Regions from separate parts of the Homo sapiens genome. Here regions 1 and 3 are each linked to region 2. The links are contacts of gene promoters, found by promoter capture Hi-C in blood cells and fetal thymus (Javierre and others, 2016). All regions are on one chromosome and are shown on one strand. Each heading gives the region's core, a stretch centred on a gene start or on the middle of the fragment in contact. The rest is flanking DNA. Distances are from core to core; before and after follow the strand shown.

Region 1 (2,700 bases), core at 113-2,612, 3.4 Mb after region 2:
GGTTTCGCCATGTTGGCCAGACTGGTCTCGAACTCCTGACCTCAGGTGATCCGCCCACCTCAGCCTCCCAAAGTGCTGGGATTACAGGCGTGAGCCACCGCACACGGCCATATCTGATAATTTTAAAAAATATATGTAAGTGCTTCTCCTGTGCTTATTGGCAGAGGTGGGAACAGACACTGGTCCCCTGGTTTCCATTTAAGTATTTCCCCCTGGAACCTGGATTTCTATCATGTCCTGAGTTCACGGCATTTCTGCCTGGCTCAGACCGAACACAATCCACACAAGTCTACTTCCACGTCCACAAAACTCCAGCTGATTCCTTGGCATTTTTTTTTTAAACAAAATACTTTTCATTATTCTGCTTAAAAAGCCTGTTAATATGGCTTATTTTCTTTTTGTACTTGGATAAGCTTAAAATGACTGCTTCACCAGCTTTTCCTTGGAAGTTCCCCACAGCAAGGGAAACTGACTGTGCTCACGGGTGTGGGGGTGGTAGAGTTTCGATATTTGTCCTTGCCCAAATCTCATGTTGAACTGGAGTCCCCAGTGTTGGAGGTGGGGTCTGGTTGGAGGTGACTGGATCACAGGGGCAGATTTCTCACGCATGGTTTAGCACCATCATCTTGGCACTGTCCCCATGATAGTGAGTGAGTTCTCATGAGATCCGGGGCCATTTAAAAGTGTGTGGTATTTCCCTGCTCTCTCTCTTGCTCCTGCTCCCCCTCTGCCATGATGGTACACTCCCTGAGGCCTTTCCAGAAACTGAGCAGATGCCTGTGTCATGCTTCCTGTACAGCCTGCAGAACCATGACTCAATGAAACCTCTTTTCTTTATAAATTACCCAGACTCAGATATTTCTTTTTCTTTCTTTCTTTCTTTTTTTGAGATGGAGTCTCGCTGTTCCTCAGGCTGGAGCGCAGTGGCACAATCTCGGCTCACTGCAACCTCCGCCTCCTGGTTTCAAGTGTTTCTCCTGCCTCAGCCTCCTGAGTAGCTGGGATTACAGGTGTGTGCCACCATGCCTGGCTAATTCTTTTGTATTTTTAGTAGAGATGGGGTTTCACTATGTTGGTCAGGCTTGTCTCGAACTGCTGACCTCGTGATCCTCCCACCTTGGCCTCTCAAAGTGCTGGGATTACATGCTTGAGCCACCATACCCAGCCTCAGGTATTTCGTTATAGCAATGCAAGAATGGACCAATACAAGGGGTGAGCCAGAAACTCCATTCCCAGCCCATTATTTCTGTAAAGTGACATCATTTATCTTAAAACTTCAGGTCATGTCTGACAGGTCACTTGACACTAACGATGACAGCTAAAACTTACTGAATTCTTCCTTGCCAAGTACCTGGGTTATATAGGTGCTTTACATTTGTTACCCTGTGAAATGTTCATAGCAGCTGTATGAAGCAGTTACTAATATTTTGTCCTCATTTTACAAGTGAAAAGACTGAAGTACAGAGAGGGCAAGTAACGAGGCCAAAGTCACAGCTGGCAAGGAGAGAGCCTGGATTCAACGTGGACAGCTAGCTTTAGAGCCTAGGCCGTTAACTTCTATGCTCTAGTATTTTCACATTATACTGGGGGTGGGATAGTCTAAAACAGTGGCCCTTGGTGGGGGGCAATTTGGCACCCCCAATCCTGCCAGGATAGTAGGCAATTCTGAAGACATTTGTGGTGTGTGTGCTACTGGCATACTGGACAAAGGGACAAAGGTGTGTGTGAGCTTGTGTTTGTGTGTGCTACTGGCATCTGGTGGGTAGAGGCCAAGGATGATGGTAAACACACCACATTATACAGGACAGCCTCCACACCAAAGAATTATTCAGCCCCAAATGCCAATAGCACCAAGGTTAGGTAACCCTAGTGTGAAAGCGTTTTAAACTGCTTGCTAGCTAAATTCCTTCATTTTCTTGTTAAACCTTCTCCAAGAAACACCATGTTATCCTGTGGCTTGTGGTTGTATGCCTCTGACATCACAATTTTGAAAGCCCTTTTGAGAATTTTGGCATCAAAGTGTGTGCAAGTGACAAAATCTCGTGAGGTCTTCTGATGTCCTGAGGTTTAAGGGCAGGAAATTTTTTGTCCACCTACCTTCTCTGACCGGACGGTGAACAACAAATGGAGTTTTCCTTCTTTAGCCACCAATGGCAAAAGGACGGAGTATTTGTTATATGGCAAGTGAGAATATTTGCCTCCAATATCATACTTTCTTAAGCGGGCCTTAGCATCATCTAGCAAACTGTTTCTAAAATAAAAACAAACCAGACAGACATTTTAGCAAGCAGAGTTATGGTAAAAAGCTTATAGTCCTGCCTCTGTTTCTGCTTTGTTGTGTATTTAGGAGTTTGCCATTTCTGACTCTCTGTGTATTTTTCAATAACACGACAGAAATGATACTATCTAAATTGCGTGGTTGTTCGCAAGATGAAAATGACAAAAAAACCTTCTAAGCACACAGTTTAGTACACAGGTTCTCTTTGAAACATAAAGTATGGTAAAATGTTTTTTCAATAATGCAACAGTTGAATTTTGAAACCCATAATTATATTCAGAGAAGACAGGTTTGATGAAAAAGTCATTGTTAAGGTTAGAAGGTTAGAAGACTACCTTCTGTTAAGCTGGCCCTTATGTTCTCAAACTCTTATGTCTTCAACTGCTTATAATAGTGGTTCCCAAGCTTTAGCAGCAACAGAA
Region 2 (2,700 bases), core at 181-2,680:
AATCCCTGCCCCTTTTCTGGAGAACTCTTGAATGATCCACCCCTTGTTTAGCATACAATCAAGAAATAACTATAAGTACACTTAGTCGAGAAGCCATACTGCTGCTCTGTCTACGAAGAAGCCATTCTTTTTTTTCTTTACTTCTCTATTAAACGTGCTTTCACTTTATAGACTCTCCCCAAATTCTTTCTTGCATGAGGTCCAAAAACCCTCTCTTGGGGTCTGGATTGGGAGCCCTTTCTGTAACAGTACTAAAGGTGTGTGTGTAGCTTAAGGTGTTTTTCAGAACAGTATTTCTTTGCTGACTCATGGCCACTCCATAAAATCTGTGTTAAAGGTGAGGTTTTTCCCAGAACCTAATTTTTTTCTGACTTCTTGGATTGGGATGATGACTTCGGCTTTTCTCGGAAGGCCTTGGTCACACCGCTGGCCGATGAAACAAGGAATTGTGCACACTGGGTCTCAGCTCTCTGCGTTTTGAATATTTCTGCATTAGTGACTGGCTTGGGTCCAGTCTCCACCAAGAAGCCACTTATGACCCTTGGACAAGTCTTTATTCCTTTTTAAGTAAGCTTCTGGATTCTGCCGGTCCTGTTTGGGGTCCCTGGGGCTCTTTGAGACAGGAACGTTACAGAGCAGTTGAAGGAGAATAGAAACTTCCAGGCTGCAGTTCTGTCTAACAAAAGGAAACTGTTGAAATAGCTGCACAAGCTATGGGCTAAGACCCTGAAAAACCAGGGTGTGGGTCAACCTGGCTAAAACCAACTGGACCCAACGTGGTGTGGCTTTGACCTAGGCTTCACCTAGGACTCATTAACATACTAAGTCACACACCCACCGGCACCACAACAATTCCGGGAACACCCATATTTGGTGTAAAAATGGGTGGCACCACAGTTCTGACAAGTCTCCACCTTATTCCAGAAACCTTTGTGTATATTCCATTTCTCAAAGAAACCCATAAAGATGGAAACCCCAAGCCCCATTGTGTGGCCCTCTTTTGAGTCCGCCCTTTCTTCAGTGTGTACTTTGCAGTAAACCTCTGTACTTTCACGACTTTCCGACTTGTTCTTGAATTCCTTCGTGAGGTGGTGAAACCACCTTTGAAAACTTATGACAGAGGCAGTAAAAGAGATACACATGTGGAAAGGAACCCAGTCTGGGGCTAGGCCCCGCCCCCCTCCTGCGGGCAGCCCAATCATACCCAGGCCCGCCGCGCTAGTCTCCGCCTCTCGGTGCTGCCTCTTCCGGGCCTCAGGTTCTTCCCCATGCCCACGCCCCTCTTTCGCGTCGCCGTATCCGAGGTCGCGCCAGGCCCTGGAGTCCCCAGTCTCCGCGTGCTGGCCAATCAGACCCTGCCTCGCCCCCTCGCCTGGGAGTCTCCGCCCTCCACGCTCTGCCCAGTCAGGCTCTGTCCCGCCCCCGCGGCACCGCCTCCGCGCCTCCATCCAGCCGGCTCCCTCCGGCCGCGAACTGCCCCTCCCCGCCCCGCCTCCCGGCGCGGGTGGCCGAGGCGTAGCGCTGCGACCCCCGCACCCCTGCGAACATGGCGCTGCGAGTGGTGCGGAGCGTGCGGGCCCTGCTCTGCACCCTGCGCGCGGTCCCGTCACCCGCCGCGCCCTGCCCGCCGAGGCCCTGGCAGCTGGGGGTGGGCGCCGTCCGTACGCTGCGCACTGGACCCGCTCTGCTCTCGGGTAAGCGCGGCGGGCACGTGGGCGGCTGCTCCCTCCCCGCCTGGGCTGCTTGTCCCGGGCCCAGCGGGACACGGAGGACGCCGGGGCACCGCTCCTGAGCCACCGGGGCGGAGCGAGCGCGGACCCTGCCCCCTTCTTATTTCTGTTGGGATCCCTGGCTCTGCGGCCGCTTCTCCCCCTTAAGTAGCGGGAGGACCCGCGAGTAGCCTTTGCCCTAGGGATTGCATGCAGCCGGGAGGGGAGGCCTGCGGGACACCGAGGCGGGGGTGGCCCGGCGGGTCCGGCGGGCAGGTCGGCCGCTTGCTGCAGAAGCCAGGCACGTGTCGCTTAAGCGTCTCGGTGGCCTTAAGTTTATCTCCCATCTGCGTGCATCGTTGAGACCCCAAATGGGGAGGCCTTTAGTTTACTAAATGGACCGTTACTGAGAACTCCGAAGTAAAATTAAAACAGAAGCGCTTATTAAAATTAAAGCACCAGGCAGGGCGCGTTGGCTCATGCCGGAGGGCGGATCACGAGGTCAGGAGATCGAGACTATCCTGGCTAACACGGTGAAATCCCATCTCTACTAAAAGTACAAAAAATTAGCCAGGCGTGGCGGCATGCGCATGTAATCCCAGCTACTCGGGAGGCTGAGGCAGGAGAATCGCTTGAACCTGGGAGGCAGAGGTTGCAGTGAGCCGAGATCGCGCCACTGCACTCCAGCCTGGGCGACAGAGCAAAACTCCACCTCAAAAAAAAAAAAAAAAAAAAAAATTAAAGCGCCAGATCTAGATTTTTTTACTAGATAAAACAATCATAACTTTGAAGATTCAGCTATTTCCCCAAAACAAGTAAGATAAAGTCTTCTGGACTCAACAGAAGTTCTGCTAAAGTTTGTATTGGATCATTCATGTGTGTGCTTGCTGAAATGAGCCCTAACTCAAACGGACTTGAAATAACTGGGAAACCTGCCCATGAATGTTTCGGCCATTTGTGCTACTTCAGCACAATTATTGCAGGGGAAAAA
Region 3 (2,700 bases), core at 32-2,531, 3.9 Mb after region 2:
AACATATGGTGGGCAGGAGGGTGGGCAAGTGGTCTCTTCAGGGCAGGGTCCTCGCTAGTGCTGTGGGCACCAGAAGGGGAAGAACAGCCATGTGCTCTCCTCTGGGTAGTAGGATACTGAAATTGGGATATTTTGGGGTGTATGTTTTTTGAAGCTTTGACTGTGATTTTTAAACAATAAAATGTTCTAAAAATATAAAGGTAACCACTGAGAAAGATATTTAATCTCAGAGTGGAAGAGAAATTTATAGGTAATGGGCATTTTAGATAATGTAGGTTTAATAAGACTTTAGAAATAAGAAGACACACGGAAAGTAAAACAGGCTTTCCAAAAATGAGGCACAAAATATAAAGACAATGACTCCAGAAAAGAAGGTCATTAAATGCCTACTGGCTTTCATAAGATACAATTGGAAGGAATCTTTATAACTCTTAAATAGGTCTGATCACAGAAGTAAAACATGACTGCACACACTTGGAAGAAATCAATTAATTTTAGCAGGGCATGGTGACTCACGCCTATAATCCCAGCACTTTGGGAGGCCAAGGTGGGTGGATCATTTGAAGTCAGGAGTTTGAGACCAGCCTGGCCAATATGGTGAAACCCTGTGTCTACTAAAACTACAAAAATTAGCCGGGCGTGTTGGTGGGCACCTGTAGTCCCAGCTACTTGGGTGGCTGAGACAGGAGAATCGCTTGAACCCGGGAGGTGGAGGTTGCAGGGAGCCGAGATTGTGCCACTGCACTCTAGCCTGGGCGACAGAGTGAGAGTCCATCTCAAAAAATAAATAAATAAAAATAAAAAAAGAGATAAATTAATTTCAGAGTTAACACCAAGGAAGGACTACAAGACAAAAAACAGGCACCTAGGCTATTCAAATCATCTCCATCTAATAATGACTTGATAATGAAAGGAAGAAGAATGGAACTAATGTAATCTTTGGGTAAATGTTACTCAAGATTCCAATGAGAAAGATGCTGGGTAGGATTACGGTGAGTAATAGGTCACAAAAACAGAGTTTGAGTTTTGTAGGAAAATGGAAAATGAAGTCTAGGTACTTGTGAATTTTGTAGGTATGGCAAATATGTTAATTCTGCCACTGACCAGTCCCTTAAAACAGCTGGTAGATCAGCAAATAGAATATGCACGGACCTCTCACTGTTCTACTCACTGGTTAGCATCACTGCTTAACAAGATCCTAGAATGGAGAAAAGTAAGAGCTCAATATCCAGGTTCCCAGGAAAAGGTGGCCTGGGATTGTATTCACCTGTACTTGATGTTTTGATTGCTGTCTGAAATCTAAATGAACACAAAATTGAGAGATCAAAAAAGAAATGGTGGATGCCTTTGATTCTCTGAAACGTAACATGCTACATGTCCTCAAAACTTTATGAACGGCCAGTCAGGGTGGCTCACGCCTGTAATCCCAGCACTTTGGGAGGCCAAGGCGGGTGGATCACTTGAGGTCAGGAGTTTGAGACCAGCCTGGCCAACATGGTGAAACCCCGTCACTACTAAAAATACGAAAATTAGCTGGGTGTGGAGGTGGGCGCCTGTAATCCCAGTGACTCGGGAGGGTGAGGCAGGAGAATCCCTTGAACTCAGGAGGTGGAGGTTGCAGTGAGCCGTGATCTCGCCATTGCACTCCAGCCTAGGCAACAAGAATGAAACTCCATCTCAAAAAAAAAAAAAAAAAGGGAATTTAAGTAACCTAACTGTGTAACCTGAAGTTACACAGCTAGTATGCAGCAGAGCTGGGATTCTAACAAACACAGTCTGGCCCTGGGTTCTGTTCTGCTAACTAGTGTGCTCTATTAGGTAGTAATATTATTATCCTCCGGGAGATTCTACTGCAGTCACTTTGGCCACTCTCTCTTCCATGCCTTGTCTAGCTTGCTACTCAGGATGTGCTATGTTTGCATCTCTTCGGGCCCCTCCTCTGACTCCTCTGTTTTTCAGTGGGTTTCTTTCTGGCTTACTTTTTTCAAGAATGTCCTGGCCGGGTGCGGTTGCTCACGCCTGTAATCCCAGCATTCTGGGAGGCCGAGGCGGGCGGATCACGAGGGCAGGAGATCGAGACCATCCTGGATAACACGGTAAAACCCCGTCTCTACTAAAAATACAGAAAAACATTAGCCGGGTGTGGTAGCGGGCACCTGTAGTCCCAGCTACTCTGGAGGCTGAGGCAGGACAATGGCGTGAACCTGGGAGCCGGAGCTTGCAGTGAGCCGAGATGGCGCCACTGCACTCCAGCCTGGGCGACAGAGCGAGACTCCGTCTCAAAAATAAATAAATAAATAAATAAAAATAATAATAATAATAAAAAGAATGTCCTTCCGCCTTTTGGCAACACTGAGCTCCCCCAGGCTCATTCACATTTGAACCTGAACTACAAGCCAAGAAGCTTGAGAATTATGGTAATTGAATGCAAGCCCTGAGAAAAGCTGTTACAGGAAGTGAGTGAAGACTTCCCAGGCAGCTGTCAATTATTTCAATGAAAGGAGAAGTAGCCCTGCCAGGAAGGTCAGTTGAGTCAGGAGAACACAGGGCAAATCAAAAGCCAAAGTCTCGCTCTGTCGCCCAGGCTGGAGTGTAGTGGCGCCATCTTGGCTCACTGCAACCTCCGCCTTCCGGGTTCAAGCAATTCTCTGCCACAGCCTCCTGAGTAGCTAGGATTCCAGACACCTGCCACCACCAAAC

The links. The method cuts DNA at HindIII sites, captures the fragments that hold promoters and counts their contacts. A CHiCAGO score of 5 or more calls a contact.
Region 1: a contact is called between a fragment that was not itself captured here and the fragment with the promoter of GCSH in region 2, in 2 of 17 cell types (non-activated CD4 T cells and total CD4 T cells). The highest score is 12.3, in non-activated CD4 T cells.
Region 3: a fragment that was not itself captured here is called in contact with the fragment with the promoter of GCSH in region 2 in 1 of 17 cell types (activated CD4 T cells); the score reaches 5.2 in activated CD4 T cells.

What each region holds. Positions count from the first base shown.
Region 1 is chr16:77,724,982-77,727,681 of GRCh38, reverse strand. NUDT7 (nudix hydrolase 7) reads right to left here. Exons shown (of 4, transcript NM_001105663.3): 2 at 2,098-2,251. Among named protein-coding and RNA genes, the nearest start is that of NUDT7, 3.8 kb to the right of the region's middle. The HindIII fragment of the contact is 1,893 bases long and covers 416-2,308 here.
Region 2 is chr16:81,095,125-81,097,824 of GRCh38, reverse strand. GCSH (glycine cleavage system protein H) reads left to right here and starts at 1,430. Exons shown (of 5, transcript NM_004483.5): 1 at 1,430-1,694. The coding sequence starts at 1,547. RefSeq lists silencers at 1,094-1,193, 1,344-2,013. The HindIII fragment of the contact is 7,249 bases long and covers 575-2,700 here.
Region 3 is chr16:77,214,739-77,217,438 of GRCh38, reverse strand. No RefSeq gene overlaps it. Among named protein-coding and RNA genes, the nearest start is that of SYCE1L, 17 kb to the right of the region's middle. The HindIII fragment of the contact is 2,250 bases long and covers 157-2,406 here.